2 separate regions of the Homo sapiens genome follow, and region 2 is linked to region 1. Evidence: promoter capture Hi-C in 16 types of primary human blood cells and fetal thymus (Javierre and others, 2016). All regions are on one chromosome and are shown on one strand. The core of a region is centred on a gene start or on the middle of the fragment in contact, and the rest is flanking DNA. Distances in the headings are between cores, read along the strand shown. Region 1 holds the start of SOBP (sine oculis binding protein homolog). Region 2 has its middle 24 kb from the start of BEND3.

The links. Contacts are between HindIII fragments. The CHiCAGO score rates a contact against its expected background, and 5 or more counts as called.
Region 2: a contact is called between a fragment that was not itself captured here and the fragment with the promoter of SOBP in region 1, in 1 of 17 cell types (erythroblasts). The highest score is 5.5, in erythroblasts.

Annotation. Positions count from the first base shown.
Region 1 is chr6:107,487,113-107,492,929 of GRCh38, forward strand. SOBP (sine oculis binding protein homolog) reads left to right here and starts at 3,005. Exons shown (of 7, transcript NM_018013.4): 1 at 3,005-3,600. The coding sequence starts at 3,505. RefSeq lists silencers at 3,235-3,284, 3,325-3,384. The HindIII fragment of the contact is 8,594 bases long and covers 2,301-5,817 here.
Region 2 is chr6:107,136,916-107,142,732 of GRCh38, forward strand. No RefSeq gene overlaps it. Among named protein-coding and RNA genes, the nearest start is that of BEND3, 24 kb to the left of the region's middle. The HindIII fragment of the contact is 1,871 bases long and covers 2,075-3,945 here.

The DNA of each region.
Region 1 (5,817 bases), core at 1,755-4,254:
GCTAGTGGTTGGGGAGCAAAAGGATACGTCATTGGAGCAGGAGTGGGGCTCCTCTGAAATGCGTATAATGTGTTGTTCCTACCTGTGTAGTTATACTCTTATGGATTATGAAGTTATTCAGGGAACATTATTTAACTCATGGTATATCTAAATTCATAAAGCATCATCTGTTGTTATAATTGTTTTCGTCTACAGTAGATATGAAGAAACCTAGGGTCATTAAAAGGTGTAACAATCATCATTACTTCTGAAGTTCATTCTAGACTAAAAGTTTTCCTCAGATATACTTTATGAGCCTTCTTTCTGTCACCAAAGATGTGCATTGTGGATTTCAATACAATGTTCTCACCTCAGTTTTCTGAAGGACATATGTTTGTGAAGGAACAGGTGGCTGTTTAATATCATTATTTTTATTAAATGCCTGAACCATCACAGAATAAGTAATTTTCTTTAAAGAAGTATAGCTGCCTCTAAATATAACTCTGGGCTACAGTTCACCTTTTCTGTTTATTTTATTCTTAACTTGTGAAACTGTATCTTAGGACTTGGGGTATATAACTTGCTATTTGATATCAGCTGCTCAACAGTGAATCAGTTGTAATGCTTCTGGCACCAAAGGAAACAGAGGGGACTTAAATATGTTTACAGAAGACAAAAAGCTGCTTTTTGCGTACAGTTTACAACATATGTTTCCACAGTTTTAGAATATTAAAAAGCCCCCCAAAAAGTTTTCTCACTATTTCCCTCATTAAAGACTAACAGGATCAAACAGAGAAAACAACTCTCCAACCCACATATTATTTATCAGATGTTTTGGATGAAATTCAATTTAAAAAACCAAAAGTCTCTCTCTTCCTCTCCCTCTCCCAGCAACAGCATTAGGGAGATACTCCCCACCGCAAAATACACCCACTCACCCACTGGCGAATGTTGCACTATCATTCCAGGAGTGGGGGGAGGTTGCTGCGACAGCTTTAGGCTCCTCTCCGCGTTATTGGGTCGTCGTAGGTGCGCTGTGGGCTGCTGCGGGCTCTGAGACCCGGCCACAGGACTCGCGGCTCACGACCTGAGTGTACCTAGATAGGTTCTCAGAGGCTACTGGGAAAATCGCAAATACAGGACGCCTGTACTGCAAAGCTCCCCTAAAACCTCATCAGTCTTCCTCTCTTGACTCTTGGGCGTCCCAGGAATTTTAACTTTTCCTCGGCGTAAGTGTTTCTCGCGCGGACCCCTTGCAGGCGCAAAGCCTGGCTCGCTCTGGCCTCCTGGCTTGCCCAGGATCTAGGCAGCCACGGGGAGCAGGGTGCAGCTTCCCCTCGCCTCCCCGGGACGGGGAAGAGAAGAAATCAGGAGGGAGGAGGTACTCAGCCCTCCTGGGTGCACTCCCAGATGTTTTTAAGTTGGCGTTTATTAAAAACAAAATGATGCTAAAATGCAAAATAGGCAACGTGGAGGTACTCAGCTCTCCTGCGTACACGCCCATGTATCTCTAATGTGACATTTAAGAAACAAAACAATGCTAAAATGCAAATTAGGCGATGTAATACCCAGAATGAGCCTCGTTTGACAGGCCAAACTGAGATTTAATGGAAAGCTTACTCATATCCCCACACGGAATTCATTCTTTTAGGAACTTAAAAAAATTGTGTAATTTTAAGTTCCACCACTGTCATAACGAACACTCCACAGTAACATGCAGTGGAACAATGGACACCCCCATATCGCATTGTGTCAGGTAATTATGAAGTGTCGAGGCGCGGGAAGGAGAAGCCGGGAACGTCAATGTGTCCTCTGCAACGTGTGGGAGCGCTCAGAGCCGCGCGTATCACAGAAACATCATCCAGTCGTCACCCCCAATGCCTCAACCCAGGGACAGGGACAGACTCAATCAGACCTCGGCCCCAGGCGTGGCAGGAGAGGGCCAAAGAGGGGACTTGTGAGCGCAGAGGGAGCGAGCACCGCTCCATGGAGGGCAGGCGCTAGCTGGGAAGTCGGGAGGAGAAAGTGCAACCAGGCGGGGAGGGGAGGATCCCACCGGGGCGTGGCGAGGGCGTTCGGGGTCCGGGTGAGCGGGACCCTACGCGGGACCGTGCGCTCCCAGAAGCTCCCACTCAGCCCAACCTTTTGGGCGAAACCCAGGACACCCAGATAAGGGTGCAGGCGGGGTCACGCGTAAAGCTGTTACTTTGAAGCAGGGCATAAGTGAGAGAGAGATAAAGAGAGAAGGAACAAGGGGAAAAAGAAATGAAGGGGCTGAAGGCCGAGATGTCCTACTTCTAAGTAGTTCTTTGAGAGGCAAAAGCTTCATTGCCATTGCAGTCCGAGGCAGCGCCGCGTGGAGGACCGGCCGGGCGGGGCGCGGGGACCTCTCCAAGGGGTCTCCAGCCTCCGCGCACTCTGCGGTGGCCCCCGGAGGGGGAAACTATTCTGGCAGCTCAGTGGGGGGAAGCTCGTCCGGGCTGTGGTTTCCTTTCCCCGAGACCCCAGCGTTGCACCCCCGAGGCGGCAGGCTCAGTCAACCCTCCCCGGGGGACGGCGGCCCTCTAGCCAGGCGACCTCAGGTCTCGCGACCTCCCGCCGCCCAACCTTCTCCTTTCACCCCCATTCATTTTTCCTCAGCGGCTCCTAGGACGGGCTCAAAAACCAACTCCACACGCAACCCAGCCCACCTCGCGGAGCTGAGAAGCAGGGCTGGGTTCCGAGCGGGCGCCGGCGCCCCTGGCGTGTGGCGGGGAGGTGGCGGCCGCGGGGGGCGCCGCGAGCCGCCCGTGCCCGCCGCGGATGAACAGGCGGCTGCGAGCAGCCCCCGGAGCCGCGCAGCATCCGCGTATCCAGTGACGGTGGAAGCCACGCCCGCTCGAGAGCCGGGGGGCTGTCCTCGCCCCCCCCACCTTTCCCCTCCCTCCGACCCCCTCCCGGCCGCGCTCCCTCCCCTCCTCCCGCGCCGGCCCCCGGCCCGCCCCCGGCTCGGCTCGCGGGAGGCGCTGGGCGCCGGGGCTGGCGCGCTCTCCCGGGCTCACACACAGCCGCGCACGCACGCCCGGGGCCGCTCTCCGCGCCGGCCCTTGCTCCCCGCGCCCATGCGGACGGACCGAGCGACGGAAGATGGCTGACGACTCCACGGGGCCCCGAGGATGCGGCCCGGCGGCGGCGGCGGCGGGAGCGGCAGCGGCAGCGAGGGCGGCAGGGGCAGCGGCAGCAGCGGCGGCGTTGGCTGCGGCGGCGGCGGCGGCGGCAGCAGGAGCCGGAGCGACGGCGGCGGCATCCCCGAGACTCTCCGCACTATCCTTACCCGTGACAGCCACTGACGTCCTCCGCCGCTAGAAGAGACCCCGCTTCTCGGCGCCTGCCCTCCCCCTCGCGGCTCGGTCCGGCCCCGCCAGCACCGCTACCTCCGCCAGCCTCGCCACCATCAGCACCACCTCCACCGCCGCCGCCGCCGCCACCACCACCGCCGGCGGCGGCAGCAGCCATTTCATCTCCACAGAAACCAGACACAAAAACATGGCAGAAATGGAGAAAGAAGGGAGACCTCCCGAAAATAAACGGAGCAGGAAGCCGGCTCACCCAGTGAAAAGGGAGATCAATGAGGAGATGAAGGTATTTTTTGATCTCGGGGGCCAGGGAGACTGAGCTCTTTCTTGCGCCCGCTCCCCGTGGGCCGTGGTATGGATCTGGGGGGTACCGGGGCGCGCTTGTCAGTTTCTGTAGGATGCCCAGAACGGCTCCGCTCCTCCTCCAGGTGTAAAGCAGAGGCCAACTCGAGGGCTGCATCCCCGAAATTGTTGCCAACCTCAGATTTGATGAGGGGGGACCACATACTATTTAACCTTACGAATCCCAGGTTGGCACGGACGCGTTTCAGGGCGAGGGCACCGGGGACTCGAGCGGCGTTGGGCAGGGGAAGAGGCTTTCCCAGTGGACGGTGCAGTTTCTCCCCCCTTTTTGAGAATCATCCTCAGGGTCCCTCCAAAGTTAGGAGCCTCCTGGCCGGGGCACCCCGGAGAGAGCTCTATTCCACCCCTCTCCCCCAGCTCACCCTCCTGCTCCTCAATCCCGCTTCCCCCCAACCAACCAGCTGCGACGGCGTGAAGAGCCCGTCAGTGCCCGGCGAGCTGCGGCCCGAGAGGCGCGGGTCTGGGCACGGTCCTGACCGCTCTCCTCGCCCGCCCCCGCCCGCACCTCACCACTGGCAGCCTCCGCCTCCCGCTCGCCTCTGCCTGCCTCACTTCCCAGCCAAGCAGACCCCGGCCAGCCCCGCTGGAGGACAGCTGTCTGAGGGGCGGCCTTTGCAGGGCGCCTGTCCATTGTTCGCTAAGGCCGGCCCGGAGTCCTCTCGGCGAGGCTGGGCTCCCCGCCAGGCCAGCGGTGCACCAGAGGTGGAGAGCGCAGCAGCCTGGCGCTCCAGCTGTTCGCGTTAGAGCAATTGCACAAGAGCACCGCTCAGCTCTGGACCCCCTCGTTGCCCCCCACCTCCTTATTTTCCATGAAGTTGCGGCTTTTGCCTGGGCGAGGGTTTTATTCTGTGTTGATTTCACGAGTCTCTATTGATATAAAACAATTTATTTATTTTTCTGCGAGCCATCAAAAAGTAGCAGGTTTGCATTTTGCGGTCTTCTTGGTGTTCCCCATCTTCTGCATGAAATCCTTAATACTACCAGGTGGCTTAATACTACTACTTGGCCAGTTTTGGTTCAGTTTGTATTTAAAAAACAAACTGGATGAAAATGGTGTGCAAGTAAGTCAAATTTATTGCGCTTTGACGCTTTCTTCATTAGAACAAGCATTTTCTATCATAGCTCACGCTTAGCAGGGGACGCATGGATATATATCATATATGTATGCGTACCTAGGTGCATATGCTTAGCTTTACTTCTCAGAAATGTCAGAAGCAACCTAAATATCAGAATTAGGGGTTTTATTACTGGATAAGGAACTTAGTACCTGGAAGCATGAGGTGCAGCATGAGTCCAACGGAGAGTTAAGGGAGATTTGCCTTGGAAATCAATGCTGTTTCTTATGGTGGAAACCACTGTTGATTCCAATGATGGACAGTTTTATTTTATTTTTTTTAAGACCGGTAGAAGTTGTTGTTTTTTGATGGGAACAAAATTCAAACAGTCCATAATAACCATTCTTCCTCACTTACCCTTACCTCCTGTCCTGCATTTCCAGTTTACTTTTGCATTTCATTTTAGGTTGGGGGTGGGGAAGGGGGAGAGAGGTGAAAGCCACTAGGAAATCACAAGGAGCTCTGGCCCTTTAAAACGCTGCCTAATGTGATCTATATGGATGGCAGCTTTTAAGTTTCATAGGTTCTAGAATTACAAATTAGCTAATTTTAATCAAAACATGTGAAATGTTATCCCGGCTGGATATAAAGGCTGACTGTGCTCGATGCTTGGGGCTCGCGTTGTTGATTTTGGCTGCAGGCGCAGTCCGTGGTTTGGGAGATAGTTGTCCTTCTGCAGTATAACAGATGTTTGTCTGAACTGGTGAGGAAGAAACAAAAACAACATTGTGTGAAGGGGAAAAATTACACAATTTTTAGCCGATGCTGCAGGACTAAGTATGGAATTAACCTTGGTGCACAGAATTTCCTCTTTTTAAAATATTATTTTCCTTCCAAATCACCACCCACTATTTGAAGTTTTAATCCTCACCCTTTCAATCCAGAGTAGCATTAAATAAGAAGTTTTACACGGCAAATAACTCAATTGTCTGTAGGATCAGTGTTTTCTCTCTTCTTTGGACCAAAGTAAAATACCCCTAACCAAAAATTTTAGTCATGTTCAAGTATACCATGCCTGAGAGTCT
Region 2 (5,817 bases), core at 1,760-4,259, 350 kb before region 1:
TCAGGATTCTGGTGGCCGGAAGGTTCAAGATTGGGTAGCTGCATCTGGTGAAGGTCTCAGGCTGCTTCCACTCATGGTGGAAAGAGGAAGGGGAATGGGAGTGTGCAAAGATCATAAGGCAAGAGAGAAAGCAAGGGAGAAAAACCAAGGAAGCTAGACTCTTAACAACCCACTCTCTGGAAAGCTAACTCATTCCTGCAAGTGTGAGAATGGGTTCCTGGGAGAGCATTAATCCATTCATGAGAAATCCACCCCCATGACCCAAACACCTCCCACTAGGCCCCACCTCCCAACACTGCCACATTGGGAATCAAATTTCTTTCTTTCTTTTTTTTTTTTTTGAGACGGAGTCTCGCTCTTGTTGCCCAGGCTGGAGTGCAATGGCCTGATCTCAGCCCACTGCAACCTTTGCCTTCCAGGTTCAAGCGATTCTCCTGCCTCAGCCTCCCGAGTAGCTGGGATTACAGGCATCCACCACCTCGCCCAGCTAATTTTTTGTATTTTTAGTAGAGACGGGGTTTCACTATGTTGGCCAGGCTGGTCTCGAACTCCTGACCTCAGGCAGTCCACCCGCCTTGGCCTCCCAAAGTGCTGGGATTACAGGCGTGAGCCACTGTGCCCAGCTGGGAATCAAATTTCAACATGAGTTTTGATAGGGACACACCATATCCAAACCATAGCACTACACATTTTTCTTTTCCCCTTTCTTCTTTGCATTGGATTGTTGCTTTTATTAGTTGTTGCTGGCTTAAATGTTAAGCATTCCAGTACGCCTGGAACCTGTCTTACTTCAAAGTTCATGTGTGTCTGCTGCATCACTCCAGGAATTATTATTATCTTTTTTTTTTTTTTTTTGAGATGGAGTCTTGCTCTGTCACCCAAGTTGGAGTGCACTGGCATGATCTCAGCTTACTGAAATCTCCGCCTCCCGGGTTCAAGTGATTCTTCTTCCTCAGTCTCCCAAGTAACTGGGACTACAGACATGTGCCACCATGCCCAGCTAATTTTTTGCATTTTTAGTAGACACAGGGTTTCACCATGTTGCCTAGGCTGGTCTCGAACTCCTGACCTCAAGTGATTCACCTGCCTCGGCCTCCCAAAGTGCTGGGATTACAGGCATGAGCCACCACGCCCGGCCCTCACCAGGAATTATATGTCAATGGAAGTTTAGGAATGTATCATCGACTCCAGTGGATCTAAAACAGGGTGTGTGTGTGAGAATTACCTGAAAATTCTGAAAAACATAGGTCTGGATACAGCCCTTATTCTAATGCAAGCCCTTGATTTTAATATGAGTGGTTCATAGACCATATTGTGCAAATACTGTTCTAATCCAACCTCTTCCCTTTTTTTTTTTTTTTTTTTTTTTGAGGCTGAGTTTCGCTCTTGTTGCCCAGGCTGGAGTGCAATGGTGCGATCTTGGCTCACTGCAACCTCCGCCTCCTGGGTTCAAGCAATTCTCCTGCCTCAGCCTCCCGAGTAGCTGGGATTACAGGCATGCACCACCATGCTTGGCTAATTTTGTATTTTTAGTAGAGACGGGGTTTCTCCATATTGGCCAGGCTGGTCTCCAACTCCTGACCTCAGGTGATTCACCCGCCTCGGCCTCCCAAAGTGCTGGGATTACAGGCGTGAGCTACCGTGCCAGGTCCTGTCCTTTATGTTCAAAGAAGTCTCTAGACCTATTTTATAACCTGTATTCTTCTGATTAGAGTTTGTAAACCAGTGTTCCTTTACTATTACTCTATTTTACTTGCTTGCTTCATTGTTTTTTTTTTTTTTTTTTTTGAGATGGAGTCTCGCTCTGTCGCCCAGGCTGGAGTGCAGTGGCGCGATCTCGGCTCACTGCAAGCTTTGCCTCCCGGGTTCATGCCATTCTTCTGCCTCAGCCTCCCGAGTAGCTGGGACTACAGGCGCCCGCCACAACGCCTGGCTAATTTTTTGTATTTTTTTTAGTAGAGATGGGGTTTCACCATATTAGCCAGGATGGTCTCTATCTCCTGACCTTGTGATCCGCCCGCCTCGGCCTCCCAAAGTGCTGGGATTACAGGCATGATCCACCGCGCCCAGCCTAAGCTTCATTGTTATAAAAACACATTTCCTTTAACAGCATTTATCGAATGGCACCCTCTGTGGTAGGTACAGTGATTGGTGCCTTCAGGCAATTAGCAGCTATTCTTTACTAGTAAGCACGACTATCCAATTCCACAAGAAAGGAAGAAGAAACCTGGAGAATTTGTCTCATCACACCTGATAGATAAGCTAGGATTTGAGGTTTTTTTGTTTTGTTTTGTTTGTTTTTTTTGAGACAGTCTCGCTCTGTTGCCCAGACTAGAGTGCAGTGGCTGGATCTCTGCTCACTGCAACCTCCGTCTCCCAGGCTCAAGTGATTCTCGTGCTTCAGCCTCCTGAGTAGGTGGAACTACAGGCGTACGCCACCACGCCCAGCTAATTTTTGTATTTTTTGTAGAGATGGGGTTTCACCATATTGGCCAGGCTGGCCTCGAACTCCTGGCCTCAAGCGATCCACCTGCCTCGACCTCCCAAAGTGCTGGGATTACAAGCATAAGCCACCACGCCCAGCCAAGAAGCTAGGATTTGAACCCAGATCTGTTTATTCCATTGGTTATCTTCCACTATTTTCAAAGAGAATCTGATCCCAAGAAGCCCACAGTATAGTGGGAAAGACACAAATAATCTCATTCTATGGTTTACCTTTGTATCCAAGGCAGTGCTATGCACATAGTAACACTTAATAAATGTCAATGAAAAGAAGGCATTAACTTATCCTGGTTTCTTACTTCTTTTTCTTTTTTTTTTTTAGATGGAGTCTCACTCTGTCACGCAGGCTGGAGGGCAGTGGCGTGATCTCGGCTTACTACAACCTCCGCCTACAGCCTCCGGAGTAGTTGGGACTACAGGCACGTGCCACCATGCCCAGCTGACTTTTGTTTGTATTTTTAGTAGAGACAGGGTTTCACTGTGTTAGCCAGGATGGTCTCGATCTCCTGACATCATGATCTGCCCGCCTCGGCCTCCCAAAGTGCGGGGATTACAGATGTGAGCCACCGCGCCCGGCCTCTTATTTTTCCGTTGATGGTTTCTAAGTCAGGGGAATCACAATCTGGTAAAATAAAGAAGCAAAGAGGATTGTTAAGGAAACACAAATTTGAGCCGGGCGCGATGGCTCACGCCTGTAATCCCAGCACTTTGGGAGACCAAGGCGGGCGGATCACCTGAGGTCAGGAGTTCGAGAGCAGCCTGACCAACACGGCGAAACCCCGACTCTACTAAAAATATAAAATTAGCTGGGCGTGGTGACGCATGCCTATAATCCCAGCTACTTGGGAGGCTGAGGCAGGAGAATCGCTTGAACCTGGGAGGCGGAGGTTGCGGTGAGCTGAGATTGCACTCCAGCCTGGGCAACAATAGCAAAAACTCCATCTCAAAAACAAACAAACAAACAAACAAACAAACAAACAAAAAAACAAAAAAAGGAAACACAAATTTGGAGACAAAATAGAAAGAGCCTATGTCACACAGTGATTTTCTTCCTCTGCACAGTTACTATAACAGGTCATCAGTCACTTTGCAAAAACGTCCATTATAAATCAGGGCTACTTCCATTTTGTACTATTTATCTTTCTAATGTATTTAATAAAAACCCATTAAGGAATATAAAAATATAATTTTAGTATTATTTTCTCCTTCCTGTAATCAGTTTTATAACGCTGATGTTGAACATAACGGAGCAAGCAACTATATGTAACTGTAGAAATTATTGCTAGGAATTTGCATATGAAATACACACCTTTTACTGCCTTTAGTTGGCTTTGTTAACTAGGTTATAAATAGTACAGTTGACATACCAGAAACGGAAAGCACTTTTTGATGAGCACATGCTATGAATGGAAGAAGTGTTCAAACACAGTGTTTAATTTGGAAAGCTTTCATTAGAACTAGCTAAAGGGGAAAGTGGTTTATTTCCTAATCATAGCCTTGCTTAATAATCCAATCATATAGAAAGACTTATGGAAAAGCTTTCTAAAAACAGATATTTATGCTACAATTTGGGTAAACAAGTGATACATCTAGTCTATAAACATATGTTGATGGTGTTGGTGGTCACTTTTAAGAAAATTGAACTTTGGGAGGTCGAGGCGGGTGGATCACGAGGTCAGCAGACCAAGACCATCCTGGCCAACATAGTGAAACCCGTCTCTACTAAAATTACAAAACTTAACTGGGTGTTGGGGCATGCGCCTGTAGTCCCAGCTACTAGGGAGGCTGTGGCAGGAGAATTGCTTGAACCCAGGAGGTGGAGGCTGCAGTGAGCGGAGATCGCACCATTGCACTCCAGCCTGGGCGACAGAGCGAGACTCTGTCTCAAAAAAAAAAAAAAAAGAAAGAAAAAGAAAAAGAAAATTGAGCAGTTTGGATTAAATATTAAATAATTTCCCTCTGTGTATATGTGGAGAGGCAAAGGAAGTCATAGGACTAAGATATAAAATTGGAAAGTGCAGTTTATATTTATACCACTTTCAAAAGAGAAAGCTCATACTATGTCATTTTGCTGAAATCACATACCAGAATTTGAAATTTTGAAAACTATTTGAAGAACTTTATTGAGCTAGAACAAAAAGATGCCATTCATTTTGACTGCATGAACATAAAAACTATCATTAATAGGGCAGCGTTTTTGCTGATATTTTATATTGCTAGAGGGCAAAAATTCAATAAATGTTACTATGCAGGCTGTTTCAATCATTATAAAGTATAGAAACAAAGGCTGGTGATGACTTTTGTAAATGACAAATATAAAATTTGCAGAAATCGTTATATTTTTATAGGATGCAATAATTGGGTTTTCAAGCTTTTTTTTTTTTTTTTTTTTTTTTTGCTATGGTTGTGAAGCAACTACGACACAGATTTAATGCTGCTACTCATCCAGATGACAGTGAGGTGAGGGGACTAGGGACAATTTTTTCTTCTCACACATTTGTTTTTAGCCATCTATATTTGCCTCAGTGTCTTGATACCATGGCGATAACTTAGCAACAGCTAGATACAAATTAAGGTAATCTGTCATACCAGCCTCTGATCATCAAAAGTTGGGAGGTAGGACACTGGGAAGAAAAATATAGATGTTTAATGGCTTAAGAAAAAAAAAGCTTGATCTCTCTGCTACCTGCTCTTGTCCATTTCTTCATCTCACTTTCATATATATCTGAAAAAAGAGATGACAATCTAAAAAAATTCCCAACCAACCCCAGTGTTAAAATTAATTAGATAAAATGAAATTTAAAGATTTCTTAAATAGGGGAAAAACAATACACGTTATCCTTTCTTGAACAGGAACTAATGATCACAAAGGTACAAAAAAAGTGCAGTGGCACGGTCTTGGCTCACTGAAATCTCTGCCTCCCATGTTCAAGCGATTCTCTTGTGTCAGCCTCCCGAGTAGCTGGGATTACAGCCATGCGCCACCATGCTGGCTAATTTTTGTATTTTCAGTAGAGTTGGGGTTTCACCATGTTGGCCAGGCTGGTCTCGAACTCCTGACCTGAGGGCATCGTCCAGCCTTGCCCTCCCAAAGTGTTGGGATTACAGGTGTGGGCCACCATGCCCAGCCCATAAAAAGTGTTTTGCAAAGACATTTCAAAGAGATTTTTCCATACTAATGGACATTCAATTTCTGTTGATGGTTGTTAGGAGGACAAAGTTACATAAAATATAAATACCTTTGGACTAGCAGACTTGTATGACATAATGGATTCTGCCATTTTAAAAGTCAACATACCATATAATGCCTTTCCC